2 separate regions of the Homo sapiens genome follow, and region 1 is linked to region 2. Evidence: promoter capture Hi-C in 16 types of primary human blood cells and fetal thymus (Javierre and others, 2016). All regions are on one chromosome and are shown on one strand. The core of a region is centred on a gene start or on the middle of the fragment in contact, and the rest is flanking DNA. Distances in the headings are between cores, read along the strand shown. Region 1 overlaps LOC124904210 (a long non-coding RNA gene). Region 2 holds the start of CLCA2 (chloride channel accessory 2).

Evidence for each region. Contacts are between HindIII fragments. The CHiCAGO score rates a contact against its expected background, and 5 or more counts as called.
Region 1: a fragment that was not itself captured here is called in contact with the fragment with the promoter of CLCA2 in region 2 in 1 of 17 cell types (naive CD4 T cells); the score reaches 6.0 in naive CD4 T cells.

The regions. Positions count from the first base shown.
Region 1 is chr1:86,510,144-86,517,902 of GRCh38, reverse strand. The region is part of intron 1 of LOC124904210 (a long non-coding RNA gene); the gene reads left to right. Among named protein-coding and RNA genes, the nearest start is that of CLCA4, 33 kb to the left of the region's middle. The HindIII fragment of the contact is 6,719 bases long and covers 2,235-7,759 here.
Region 2 is chr1:86,418,104-86,425,668 of GRCh38, reverse strand. It overlaps CLCA2 (chloride channel accessory 2), which reads right to left and starts at 1,498. Exons shown (of 14, transcript NM_006536.7): 1 at 1,236-1,498; 2 at 193-330. The coding sequence starts at 1,421. The HindIII fragment of the contact is 7,161 bases long and covers 595-7,565 here.

The DNA.
Region 1 (7,759 bases), core at 4,345-6,844, 88 kb before region 2:
CTGCTTAAGTCACTTACCAAGTGAGGTTGCAGGCAGATCATTTAGCTCTCAGTCTTAGTTGTCCATCTACACAGCCTTTTGATAAGACATTTCTTCCCCTTAGTGGACCCAGGGTGAGTTTCAAGGGCATGAGAGACCTGTGTAGTCACTTATGGCCCTGCACTCAAGGGGTCCTGTGCTTGGTTTAATCCTCTGCTTCAGTTGTCTTAAAATTCTTAATAATTTTATCTTTGAACTTGTGTTTTATAAGGGAAGCCTGATGGGACAATAGAGAACATGTGTAACTAGTGGAGATAGGTGTGATTATGTGTATCTGCCATTCCTTACTGTGCCATTTGCATACAGGTTCCTGATGGCTCATGCACAAAGAATTTGGGTAGGCCTAGAATGCTTGGAAAGTCAGTGAGACTCAAAATGCCAGATAAGCATGCCATTTCTAGGACTGAGTAAGCAGGTGCCCTGACATCTTGAGACCACACTTTTAGTTCAAACCAGAACTTTCTTTAAACACAGAAAGAAGGCAAAGACATTCTAAGAAACATAAAAGACCACGTGATTCTACCTATCCTTTTTTATTTGTGTTACTTCCCTGTATTTGCCAATTACTTGTGCTGAAAATGATGACATAGAAGGAAGGAGAAAGATGAGGCAGCCCATAGTTCCTTTTCCTTTCAGTCTTTTCTTATTCATCAGTCAGCTGAAGGTAGAGGGTGTTGGTAGAATGTGAACATATTAAGTGAAATAAAAACACTTGAGCCAGTTTTATGCAGTATTTTCATTGTTTTGACAAAACAAAGTAAGTATGCATGTACAAGCTACAAAATACAAATTGTGTATTCAATATACAAGTTAAAAGTTCTTACATTTGTGTTTAAAACTGGCAACACATAATGTAGATGCATTATGTGGTGAAATTCATGTGGTGAAATTCATATGAATACTTTAGAATTATAATTTTTCTTTACTTAGAACATTAAATGACAAAAAAGTAACAAACAAACAAACAAACAAAAAAACACCGTGACAAGCTGAGATGCACTATGGAAGAAAGAAAAAAGCTTTATATTTTAGTGACTTTAATTACACTTTTTTCCTGATGTTTGAATAAGGCCTTGGTCCTGCATTTTCATTTTGTACTGGGTCCCCAAAATTGTGTAATGTGTCCTGTCCTCTTCCGATGGAGTGTAGAGTCCACAGGACCAAGGGGTTGTGACACCCAGTGTGTGTCCTCCCACAGCCCCACATTTCTAGAACCTGCATAACATACCCAACATGAAATTCCCTGACAAATGACTCATCCTGCTTCCATGGTCTGTGTGTGCCACAACTGACTTGGAGTTCTTCCTAGGGAAGATTGTGACAAAGATATGTATACTTCCAGGTTGGAAAGATGGACAAAGGGTAGCTATTGATGTGGTGTATGGGCTGATGAGGCCACACCCATATGCATGAGGCCTGCTGGGGTTTGGACTGTGGAGTAGAGAAAGATAGGAAGATGGTGAATCATGGCCCATCTGTTCCTGAGGTGTCATGTCCCACCATCACACTAAGAGGTTTCCAAGAATTTTAAATTTGAACCTGGACTTCCAAATCCTTATGAAGGTATATTTGTCAAGACCGGAGATAACACATTGTAACAGCTTGTAGGCCTGATTTATAATGTTTACATATTTAGACACATGGTATCTGGATCTACATTTGTCCTCTTGCCTCAGGACACTCAAATATTAGTGGAGGACCTAGACGTGAAGATGTGAAGCACTTAGTGCCTGGCACTCAGTAAAACAAGACAAAACAAAACAAAAAACCCAGGAAACGGTAGCTGTTATCATTATCAGATAAAATAATTAATGATAATGATAATAATATCACACCATTTTCTTCTCTGTCAAGGCCCTGAGTTTTGCTCACCTCTCCCTCACCCTGCACTTTCCCCCCCGAGTTGGTGTGATGATGGTGGTAGTATTTTGCTTTCCAAACCTCAGATTAGTGTCTGAGGAGGGAGACTTTTCTCTACATGGACTGGTTGCCTTGATCCTTAAAGTGCTGCCTGGGGTCCCACTTCCATGCCCTACCAGTAGGAGTAGTGCATTCCTGTGCCTGCCTGAATCACACGTGAACTCAGTGTGCCCTCTGGAGTTTGATTTGTGCTGTCCATTGTACAGGTCATCACTAATTTTTAGTCTCCCCTCCCCCTTAAGAATTCTGAGCTTCTTTGAAATTTAGGAAAAGCTTTATCTCTAGAAACAGCTAAAATAGGTTAGGAAGAAGCATTTAACATGTTTTCCTTTTGCATGTGGGTTCAGGAACCGAGTTAAATAGATTTTTCTCAATTACAATAACTTTGCATTGCTTGGGCTTTTTAATTGAATGACTTTCTTGTCCTCTTTATTTAGTTCTTACCTGGGTTGTTAGATTTGACTGTCTATGTGAAATTTTACTGTAAGCCTCCTTGAACACTGCTTTGTTGATTTGTCTTCTCTTTCTTAGTTTAATGAATCACTCTAACAGATTTTTTTGGGAAAGATTTTGGCGTTTCTTTAAAAGTCTGAAACCATGTAGAATTACTTGGAGGCAATGAAAATCTATTGAGGCCATATGTCAGGTGTATTTTTAAAGTATAATTTAAAGATTATAGTGTTTATATTTTCTTTATTTTTGATATTGTTCTGGGCAATGATTTTTTTGGATTCGACTCCAAACCTCAGGCAACAAAACCAAAAATAGACAAATGGTATTACATCAAACAAAAAAGCTCCTGCACAGCAAAGGAAACAAATAACAGAGTGAACAGGCAACCTGTGAAACGGGAGGAAATATTTGCAAGGCCATACATCCAATAAAGAGGGAATATCTAAAATATATAAGGAACTCAAACAACTCAATAACAAGAAAACGACCTGATTAAAAAATAAGCAAACGGCCTAAACAGACATTTCTCAAAAGAGGATGTATTAGTCAGGGTTCTCTAGAGGGACAGAATTAATGGAATATATAAAGGGGATTTTTTAAAATGTTAACTCACATGATCACAAGGTCCCACAATAGGCCATCTGCAGTCTGAGTAGCAAGGAGAGCCAGTCTGATTTCCAAAACTGAAGAACTTTGAGTCTGATGTTCAAGGGCAGGAAGCATCCAGCACGGGAGAAAGATGTAGGCTGGGAGGCTAGGCCAGTCTTTCTTTTTACATTTTTCTGCCTGCTTATATTCTAGCTGCACTGGCAGCTGATTAGATTGTGCCCACCCAGATTTAGGGTGGGTCTGCCTTTCCCAGCCCACTGACTCAAATGTTAATCCCCTTTGGCAACACCCTCAAGGGCACACCCAGGATCAATACTTTGTATCCTTCAACTGAATCAAGTTGACTCTCAGTATTAGCCATCCCTTGTCAACTTGAAGCCATACACATCTCCTAAGATCACACATAATCTTCAAATAAAGACAATAATAAGGTCATAATTACGCTTAACATAATACAACTATCCTTCATACAACCAAAATGCACCAGTCCCCAACCCAAATACATAAAGTTAACGATACTTAAATGCTAATGTGAAGTCAATAAATCTTATGTCACATGATAAAGGAGAAAGGAAAAAAAATGAAGATATTTTCTTGGTACAAGTGTGTACATGTACAAACATGTTTTTAACAAAAGAAGGAGGAAATACTCATGACAATTACAGTCCTCGTTTCTACAGCTGGTCCTGTCGTGGTAGCTGATACCAATGACTACCTTGTTCTACTACCCATTTTGTATCCCATTTGCCTTCAGCAAGCACCTCAGGCGGCCATGTTTTTTCCCTGTTGGAGTGACCCAACCCTTCATTCCTGAAGGGCCTGGATCATTCGTAGTCCTGCCTGGATTGGGCTGTTGTAGTTTCCCATTACCTTAATCACAGGGCATGGTAATACTAAGAGACACCCTAATGGATCTCCTGTATTCCATTCATATTCTTCCTTACCTCCATTGTGGAGTAGTAGACTAATTTCATCTTGATAGTCCGGGTCAATCACCCCAGCCAACACTGTAATTCCATTCTTAGCCTGTTGACTTAAAGGGAGGAGAAGCCCAAAGTGTCCAGGTGGCAATCTTAACTTCCAGTATAATGGATCGTTGTGTCTCCTGGTGGCAGCATTCCTCCCTCTGGAACTAAGACCTCCAGGCAAGCAGAACATAATGTCATGGGACAAGGAAGCAAAAATTTTGCTAGTGAATCACTAGGGGTGATGGTGAGTGGTGCTACTTCTACTTCCACCCCTTGATTCCTGGACCCATGAATCCTGGCTATGGGAGAAACAGTACCATATACTGGACGCTGATTCAGAACGTCCATGGCCTTCTGGAGAACTGTGCCTCAGCCCTGCAAAATATTGTCACCTAGTTGGCTTTGTAATTGTGACTTCAAAAGGCCATTGCACCGTTCTATCAATCCAGCTGCTTCAGAATGTTGGGGAACATGGTAAGACCAGTGAATTTCATGAGCATGAGCCCACTGCCACACTTCTTTGGCCATAAAATGAGTGCCTTCATCAGAGGCAATGCTGTATGGAATCCATGATGGTAAATAAGGCATTCTGTGAGTCCACGGATGTAGTCTTGGCAAAAGCCGTTTGTGTAGGATAGGCAAACCCATATCCAGAGTAAGTGTCTATTCCGGATAGACACTTATTCTATCCAGTGAGGAAAAACCTCTGCTCTTTCCATGATAAAAGAGGTCCAATATAATCAATCTGCCACCAGGTAGCTGGCTGATCACCCCAAGGAATGGTGCCATATGGAGGGCTCAGTGTGGGTCTCTTCTGCTGACAAATTGGGCACTCAGCAGTGGCCATAGCCAGGTCAGCCTTGGTGAATGGAAGTCCATGTTGCTGAGCCCATGAGTAACCTCCATCCCTGCCACCATGGCCACTTTGTTCATGGATCCATTGGGCGATGACAGAGGTGGCTGGGGAAAGAGGCTGAGTGGTGTCCACAGAATGGGTCACCGGGTCCACTTGATTATTAAAATCCTCCTCTGCAGAGGTCACCCGTTGGTGAGCACTCACATGGGATACAAATACCTTCACAGTTTTTGACCACTCAGAGAGCTCCATCCACATGCCTCTTCCCCAAATTTCTTTGTCACCAATTTTCCAATCATGCTTCTTCCAAGTCCCTGACCATCCAGCCAAACCATTGGCTACAGCCCATGAATCAGTATATAATTGCACATCTGGCCATTTCTAATTTCATGCAAAGTGCACAGCCAGGTGCACTGCTGGAAGTTCTGCCTACTGGGAAGATTTCCCTTCATTGCTGTCTTTCAAGGATGTCCTAGAGAGGGGCTGTATTGCTACAGCTGTCCACTTTCGGGTGGTTTCTGTGTATCTTGCAGAACCATCTGTGAACCAGGCCCTAGTCTTCTCTTCCTCTGTAAGTTGACCATAGGGAACTCCCCATGAGGCCATTGGTGCAGGCTGAAGAAGAGAAGGCAGGGTGGCAGGAGCAGAGACCATGGGCATTTGAGCCACTTCCTCATGTAACTTACTTGTGCCTTCAGGACCTGCTTGAGCCAGATCACATTATATACCACTTCCATTTGATGATGGAATGCTGCTGTGCACACCCCACTTTATAACTAGATGGATCAGAAAGCACCCAGGTCATGATAGGCAGTTCAGGGAGCATGGTGACTTCATGACCCATAGTCAAATATTCAGTTTCCACCAAAGCCCAGTAACAGGCCAAGAGCTGTCTCTCAAAAGGAGAGTAGTTATCTGCAGAAGATGGCAGGGCCTTGCTCCAAAATCCTAGCTGTGATTCACCTATGGGGACCTGCCAAAGGCTCCAAACAGTATCCCTATCTGCCACTGACACCTCAAGCACCATTGGATTTGCTGGGTCATATGGCCCAAGTGGCAGAGCAGCTTGCACAGCAGCCTGGATTTGTTGCAGAGCCTTCTGTTCTGGACCCCCCTCAAAACTGGCAGTCTTTTGGGTCAGTTGATAAATGAGCCGGAGCAACACAGAAGACATACAAATAGTCAATAATACATGAAAAAAATGTTCAACGTCACTAATTACTGGGGAAATGCAAATTAAAACCACAGTGAGATATAACTTAACACCTATCAGAATGGCAATTATAATAAAGACAAAAAATAGTTGTTGGCAAGGATGTAGAGAATAGGGAACCTAGTATACTGTTGGTGGGAATGTAAGCTAAGACAGCCATTAGGGAAAACAGTATAGAGGTCTCTCAAAAGACTAAATTATCATATAATCCACAAATCCTCTTCTGGGTATATATCCAAAAGTTTTAAAATCACTATGTTGAAGAAATATTTGTACTTCCATGTTCATTACAGCATCAGTCACAATAGCCAAGTTATGGAATCAATCTTAGTGTCCATCCATATATAGAACATTTTCTTTATCCATCTGTTTGGATGAATGTATGTGTATCTGTATATGCATACATATACAGGTGTATATATTATATATATATATATAATACACACACACACACACACACACACACACACACACACACACCCTATGTATCTATCTATATATTCACACAATAGAATACTATTCAGCCTTAAAAAAATAGATTATGTTGTGACATGGATGAACCAGAAGGACATTTTTCTAAGTGAAATAAGCCAGATACAAAAGACAAATGCCATATGTTCTCACTTATACGTGGAAGCTAAAAAAATTGAATACATAGAAGCAGAGAGTAGAATGGGTATTAACAGAGGCTGGAGAGTTAGGGGAATGGGGAGATGTTGGTCAAAGTATATAATGTTTCAGCCAGACAGGAGGCATAAATGATAAGAATTTGAAGTGACGGATTTCTTAATTAACTGGATTCAATCATTCCATATTGTGTGTACATATATATATATATATATATATATATATATATATGAAAGAATCATTTTGTACCTCATAAAATATATACAATTATAACTTGCCAATATCCAACAAAAAATTAATTAAAAAATAATTCAATCCCTAGAGGAATTCCAGAGTATACCTGGAAGCAGATTTTGCCCAGCATGACTAATTCCGAGATGTAGTAATATTTGGAGAAACAGAGGTTCGATTAGGGTTATTTTGCTTCATTTCTTTCTCTTGCTTTTCTCTTCTCTTCTTATTTTATACATATACCCAGACATCATGAAAGTAAAAGGATCACTTTCTCTGGCAGATACCACATGTGGATTAGGTATGCAAAGCATGAGTTCCTATAATATGTGCTTCCCCTGAAATAGACCCTACATACTGTGCATTGCTTTGTTTGTTTGTTTTTAACTTTTATTTTAGGTTTGGGGGTACATGTGAAGGTTTATTACATAGGTAAACTTGTGTCATGAGGGTTTGTTGTACAGATTATTTCATCACCCAGGTATAAAGATCAGAGGACAATAGTTATTTTTTCTTCTCCTCTCCCTCCTCCCACCCTCCATCCTCAAGTAGACCACAGTGTTTGTTGTTCTCTACTTTATGTTCATGAGTTCTCATCATTTAGCTCCCACTTATAAGTGAGAACATGTGGTCTTTGGTTTTCTGTTCCTGCATTAGTTTGCTAAGGATAATAGCCTCCAACTCCATCCATGTTCCCACAAAAGACAGGATCTTGTTCTTTTTTATGGCTGCATAGTATTCCATGGTGTATATGCACCACATTTTCTTTATCCAATCTATAATTGATGGGAATTTATGTGGATTCCATGTCTTTGGTATTGTGATTAGTGATGCAGTTAACAT
Region 2 (7,565 bases), core at 249-2,748:
TTTTTTACTGCACAATTTGCATTCATTTATTCTCATATATTTTGTTGATAACATTCTGCCCATTAATATTATTTGCATTGTTAATACTGATGATTTGTTTTTACTTAACTTCTCACTTTTATCGTTTGAGCACAGTATATTTTGGTGTTTTTTTTCCCCTTGAGATCATTGAATGAAATCCTGGATTCTTACCTTTTCATATGATTCTTGTTTTATTTTGCTGTTATTATTAGCTTTCCATGTGGCAGGTATTAAAATCTTTATATTTCTGAAAAATACTCTTCTCTTGGTAGCATTAAATAGGTAAAATGAAGCTTCAGTTATCATTTCCTACAGCCAGACAAAAGAAAAACTTACTTTACCACTTGTAAATCCTGTATGTTTTGGTTTTCTGGTATGCTTAAACAGTAATAAAAGACAATGAAATATTTTGAAGAGACCCATTTCTTTTAGAGAAAGCCCTAGACTTTGGGAAAACATAGGAGCAAATTTTTAAAAAAACTTTAAATGATTATATGGAAGATTTTAGGACACTAATTATATGTCTGTGCTTGCCTTCATAGTTTTCCCAATTTTGAGAAAGGCTTTTAAGCTTTTGTGGAACAAATCCTTTTCATGTCACACCTGTGGGCACATTCAAGACCACACCTTATGATGCTACTGATTTCACTAAAGCAATACTAAATGGAGGCTCTTACATCATAGAGCTATGATCCTCCCTTGCCATATTAAAGTAAAAATAGTCAATTATGTTACAGCACATTCAAGTGAAAAGAAATAATTTTGCTTTTTGGCCCACCGTGCAGACTCTCACCCTTTCTGCCTGAGAATTCTCACCCTCAGGATGGAATCTAGCAATATGATTTTAACAAGCATGCTCATTATCATGCTTATTCATCAGTTAAATATTCAATCTTTGTTGCCACAATGGGTTGTTATTTTTCTAAGTTGCTACCCCAAAAACAGTCATGTAGGAAAACAAAAGAGCTGAAATTAGTAGCAACCAACAATAACAAAATAGAGGGCTAGATCAACACTCTGTGAGCTGAGACTACACAGAATTAGATGAACAAACTGGCTTAGTTAGCCATAATCATAACGTTGTGGCGCTATCTTTTAAAAATGCTGTTCTCTGTATTACTCAAATACAAACCAGGCAGGGTAGTTAGCTTCTAAATAAGGCTACAGGTCTGATCAAATGGGATGCTAGTATCAATTTCATAATTTCCACTCACCTTAATGTTTGAGATGAGGTTCTGATTCTCAGGTACCTGAGGATTAATTGCAATGAGCAATCCATTATACCCATTGTCTTGAAGCTGTACTCCAGCTCCCAGGAATGGGAGTTCTGAACTTAAGGCAACCAGGAGAGTCACAAACTTCAGGTTGCAAATAGGACCTGCAATGCTCCTTTGGGTCATGTTGTAGAGAAGCCTCCAGTTCACTCACACTGAGCCTGCTGCATACATTGTGTCAGGTTTTCAATATGGATGCAGATGGTTTCTTCCTGAACTTGCAAGGTTTTAGAACACAAGATGAAGGAGGTGTCTTCTTTGAAAAGTCTGGGGTGGATCCATCTGGGACCTGCCTCTACAAGTCCTTTTCCTCCAGGCAATGCTACACTTGCCTGTTCTGTGGCTGAGCTGCCTCCTGAATCATGGTTGGGCAAGAAACATTCTGCCCTTCATTCATTTTATAACTTTTCAGAAAGAAGAGGGAAATAAGACCAAAGGAGCTTAAAAGCAGGAAATATGGGCTGGAAATCAGTATATCTGGACTGTTCAATCCACTTGCAGTAGAAACACAGAAGTCTATAGTGATTTTCCTCTCCTCATTTTTCATAACCTCCTCCATCAGTTGGCACAAGTACTTTCTACTGCCCTCAAGTCATTTTTCATTTGTTGCAAGATTTCCTTGCCTGTTTATTTTGAAGATTTAGAAATCCATTCTGCAGCCCAGTCCCTACAGCCCTTGGGTCAGATAGTCTGGGCAAGCTCTCAGCTGATGGCTGGAGGTCAGATATCAGATATCCCCCAGAGAGGGCCAACTGCCAGGAACTTGGGTGCCTGTGCAGCCCTTTCCCTCTGGCCTTGCTACCTTTTCTCTCTGCCTCAGGAAGAAGAATAGATTTCTCCTTCAGCTCTCTCCTAAGGGCAAGGCCCTGCTTCAGTCAACCCTCCATTTCTCCAGGACCAAAAACAGGATCTAATATATAGTAACCATCGCAAATATTTTATGACTGATTCATAATACCTGATATTTACCTCATGCTTTAAAGTTTACAAATGAACTCATTTAAATATCAATACTCTGATGCAGGTATAATTTGTACTTTTCAAATGAAAATAATGAGTCTTGGAAATTCTGATTATGAAAATTAGCCAATGAGAGAAGAAACTAACATTTTTTGAGTGATGGATTTTATTATGCCTATTTTATGGGTGACAGAACTAATGTTCAAAAAAATCTAAGTAACTTGTTCAAGGTTGGGAGTATTATCATCGTACTAGAATGAACCAACTGACTCCAAATTCCACTGTTTTTCAATATATCATGTTCTCTCTTAGTTACTAAATTATCTTAGTAACCTCGTTTCTCCCTCTTCTTTGTGTTTAAGAATGCCGCACAGTGACATCTATTGTAAAACTAAAGAAAAAGTTTTATTCACAGCGTCAGAGGTCCACAGCAAGCAAAACCTGTGACTCTTCCCTGCTGTGGCCCCGTCTCGGAACATTTCTGGGGAGGGGAGTGTAGCATTTAGGAAACGGTCTGTCCCTGCTCTCAACAGGGATTTCACCAACATTGTCTGTTTTCAACATCTTCATGGGCAGTGTGATGTCACTCTTCTTCCCAGCAAGGTTGGAGTCTTCTGAACTTGGGCTTTGATATTGCACTGCAATGTTGACAGATGTTGAGGGAATTTTTTTCCCCTTGCTGTCTTGCTTGAATCATTTTCTCATGCTTCTTCTCACCTGCTTTTCCTTCAAATTCCAGCTGTGTCCTGGAAGCCTGGCCTGAGCTCCATAACTAAGTCAAATTCCCTTCTTTCATGCTTCCATAGCATCAGATAACTCACCTTTGCAGTATGATCATGGTAACAATGTCAAATTTATATTGTATAATTGATTGTCAGCTTCCTGCTGTATGAAGGAAGGGATGGAGTCTGTTTTCATTCAGTACTTCCCCAGCACCTATCTCAGTAAACTCTCTGTTGAATGACTGAATGAATGGAGTCAGGAGAAGTAAATAAAACAAGATAGTGAAGGAGCCCCGGGTTATAGTGTAAAAATTCTTTCCCCCACCCTTGTTTTCTAGAAGGCATCTCCTCTGTTCTAGAGCAGTTTCCCTCTTGCTCCCTCTTGACAGGCAGTGCTTGAGTATGGTGCTCTCCTTGAAGAATGGGATGGCGCTGGTCATTACGTGGCTGCCCAAGGGTCTTACCCTAAAGTTCAAAGGTCAGCTTAGCTGCCTTTTCTCCCAAACTGAATTCCCAGCCCTAGTTTTTTTCTGCTTGTTCACTGTGTCTTCAGAGTAGAAGGCCAGAGGTGTGGCAGCTCCAAAGGCTCTGTCTGTAAATGTGACTCATTGAGCAGAACAATGCACTTCATTTCAAATATCCCTGGCAGTTTATTTTCTTATGCCAACCTCTTGTGATTTTAAGAATACAAATATTCCCATCGATAAACCAATATGCTCAAAAACTAAACTCGTAAGCACACTGCAAGAGCGGCTTTTTGCCAACACTCAGGGAAGTTTTTCATGACACTTGTATAGGTTGTTTGCTATGGGAGGGAGTGATTGAGGACTGATATTCAGCACTCTCTCCACTTGTTTTTATCATTACTATGGTTCCCTTGGGATGTGAGGGTGGAAAATATTGGCTAGAGAGTGCATGCAACTTTATAAAGAACAGCTACAAATGAACAATTTTGTCCAGCTTCACTTGGGTTGAAACCTGAACAAGCTCACTCAGGCTTTGCTTAGCCCGGGTTGAGAGTCTAGGCATGATATCTACTCTTATCTATCTGATTTTTTTTAAACGTCTAATTCAGAGCCCTTTTTGTTATCAGCAACCAGGCCTGGGACCGGGCCAGCTGAAGGTCTCTTTTTACTGCCTTCTTCTTTCATCAGGCTGACCTTACAGCCTGAAAAGGTGGAGAAAATGAAATTGAGTAAAGGAATTAGAAATTATACTGAGCACAGCATCTTTTTGTGAAGTGTGACTTCGTCAATAAAGTGAACTTTTTATCCTTTCATTAAACAAAAATTAACTGGTCATAGCCATAGATTTTAGATTTTATAATATCTGAGAAAGGAAATATACCTAAAGGAAAAGAAAGGAGGAATACAGTTTTTAAGTGTTTATTTCAATGTTATATAAACTCTAGGAATCTGCTTTGCTTTTATTCTGCTTTCAAGAAAATAAGAGTTATTCAATTTCAGTAACTGAAGAATCTAAAGCACATCTTTGTTCATTGTCTGACTCTGTAGTTCAACCTGGCCCCAGAAGGGCCTGTCTATTTTTTTCATGGAGTCAGCTGGTATAGACCCACAGTCTAAGTGAATAAAACATCCAATTGGTGTCAGAGAAGTCAGGAGATTTGACATTTTGGGGAAATCAAAGAAAATTTTGGATTAGTTCCTCTCAGGCTTTGGTTTCAACAATCCCATTTAGAAGAGGAAAGTGTAGTACACTGTACGGTTGGGCTACACAGCTCATGGGCCACGTTAGTTTATGTAATCCCTGTGAAATAAATCAGAAAAGAAGAGAGACAAATTGTCAAGACTAAGAATTTAAACAAAACACAGTTTGCCAAGGGCCCAGATGGTACATTTCCTACCTCCTTTATCCAATTTCCTTCAAATTTAGACTCATTTTCAAAGCAAAGGAACAAAGTGGATGGTCCAGATAGGGTCTGGGAAGCCATTTGTATTGTCAAATCACCACCATGTCAAAGCATGGAGATCAAGCGCAAAGGTGAAACACAATGAAACATAAACTCAGAATTGAGCATGTCAGGATAAGCCAGTTGGTTTCAGAGATAGCTGCTTGAGAACCTGATGGTGAAAAGATTCCAAAGTTGAACAAAACAGAGACTGTCTCACATTGCAGAAGGAGGCACTGAGTTTGGATATTGTAAAGACACTCTCGGCAATAAAGGCTTATGGGCACCGGTCATTATTAGAAACAATCTCTCATGTTTGTATGGTGCTTTGCACTTTTCAAAGCCCTTCTTAATCATACTGTATCTCATGAGTCACAGGAACTTATAAATTCTGCTTCTGTGGAAATTAAAGAATAGTAAGAGTAGTTATCTTCTTAAAGGACCATTTAGGTGAGATCTGTCTTGGACACAAGGTTAAGATTTAGCTCACAGGTTCTCTAAAATTTATTCCATGCATATCAGTAGAGTGTACTGTGGAATGTAAAGAATGGGAGATACTGGTTTTATTCACTTGCTATAGGATCCAAGTCACATCACCTAAACTCTTGTGGCTTGGTTTTGTCACCTTCAAAATAAGGGGGTTGATCTACTTAATGGTAGTATTTTTCCTCACTTTCCTCATTCAATTCACTTTGGCAATAACTCAACAAATTATCCTGTGTGCACACAAACACACCGAAACCCTCCAAAATTTGCCAAAATGAATGAAAAACAAGAAATACTTTTAATGATAACCCAATTAAAAATGGGAGAAAGTGTATGGAACATTTATCATTTGCAAAACAGCCTAAACTTGCCTTTCGTAAAAGACTGTTATATCTACTATATACCAGAGAGTATATAGCATCATGTGGATATAAGATATTATCATTATTACTACTGTTACTTTTGAGAGAAAAAAAAAAGAGAAAGCAGAAGTGTAGGCAATTTATTAAAGAGATGAAAAATAACCAGGGAGACTCAGAACAGTACACAGAAGTAGAAGAACAAGATTTCGACTCTGTTCTTCCCTAGTTTCCCCTTGATTGCTTCCTGCTCTGACAGTGGCCTCCGTATGTTTCTGAGACCCCAGGGATTTGCCAGATTCTCCTCTTGCTCGCAACCCCACTGGGAAGGAGTAGCACGTATTTTTTGTTCTCCTTCCTCTACTTCTGCTGCTTCTAATACTCCATTTCACATTACCTGCCCTGTGAAGAACAGGAAGCAACTATAACCAGTTTTTCAACTGGCAACTGGGGGATTAGGGCTCCCCCTTCTGTTCTTGGGGTGCAGGTATCTGGGGCTATGAATCTCTAAATAAATTCTCAGCAACAGAATGGGCCTGCACAGACCTCCCTTCTAAAATGTACCAAAAGCTGTCCAGAACAGTGTTTTTCAAGTTTTATTATACCCAAGAATCACCTATTCAAATGCAGATTCTGACTCAGTGGGTCAAGATGAGACCAATATTCTACATGTCTATTAAACTTCCATTATGCTCCCTTACATTTCCAATACAAATGTAAATTAATTTGTGACTGATGCAGCCTTTATTTTATAGTTACCACTAAAATATAAATTGTGAATTAACAGGGAATTATTAATTTCAGCCAATCAATGACATCTTTAATAAGTGAGGATTGCCCATAAAGAATAAATAAATCATTATGATAAACATTAATAACTTACGCTAAACTCAACCTAATATATGAAATATATATTGGAAATGTATTTATGTGGCTGGAGCCACTGGTCCTTGGGCCATACTTGAAGTAACCTCTGGGTCAGGAAAGCTCCTGGGAAATGTCTAGGGATTTACTTCGTGTTTATAGCCTTTACACCAGAAAGAGGTAGTCTTTATAGTCTTTAAACACATTTTTACCTTCTATGGAAAAGGCCTGTGTATTCTTCAGAACTCAGGAGAAAAACATTGCGTTAGTTATGGTGACACCATTGTTTAAATATTCTTTGTAAAGAAACAACTGCAAAGAACTGTGTGGGGTTTTTTTGTTTTGTTTTGTTTTTAAAAACAAACAAACAAATGAAAAAACCCACTGATCTGTAGGTTTTGGAATCCTAAAATTCACAATCACTTCTCTATTATTAAAACCCTGCCCTGCCCCTCTTGGCCTCCAGTTCAATCCGTCTAGTTTCTTATTGATCATATGTGAGGCATGATAAGATTGTTTTAATGGACACTTTTTTTTTAATTTCTTATGCTTCCTCAGTGATCTGCAACACATAGCCTCTAACAAGTGATTTTCAATGATTGCCTTACTCAGGAGAGGACTGCTCCCTTAACTTTTCTTACTCTCTCTTTTTGCACACTCGTTCATTCATTCACTCAAAAGTAAAATTCTGTCAATTATATCTCAATAAAGCTGTTAAAAACAAAACTGTGTTCCTACTAGATGCCAGGCACTTTTCTACGTGCTGGATATGAATGAACAAAACCAACCAAATCCCTGTCATGATGGAATTTGCATGCCAGAGAAGGGAGAGAGACAACAAAGAAATATAATGTAATATCTAGTGGCCATACAAGAAATCAGATAAGGTGGGGAGGCAATGAGAGGTGGAAGTTGGGGTTTCCTATTTTGTGTTAGGTGGTATGAGGAAGGCCTCACAGATAAGATTATC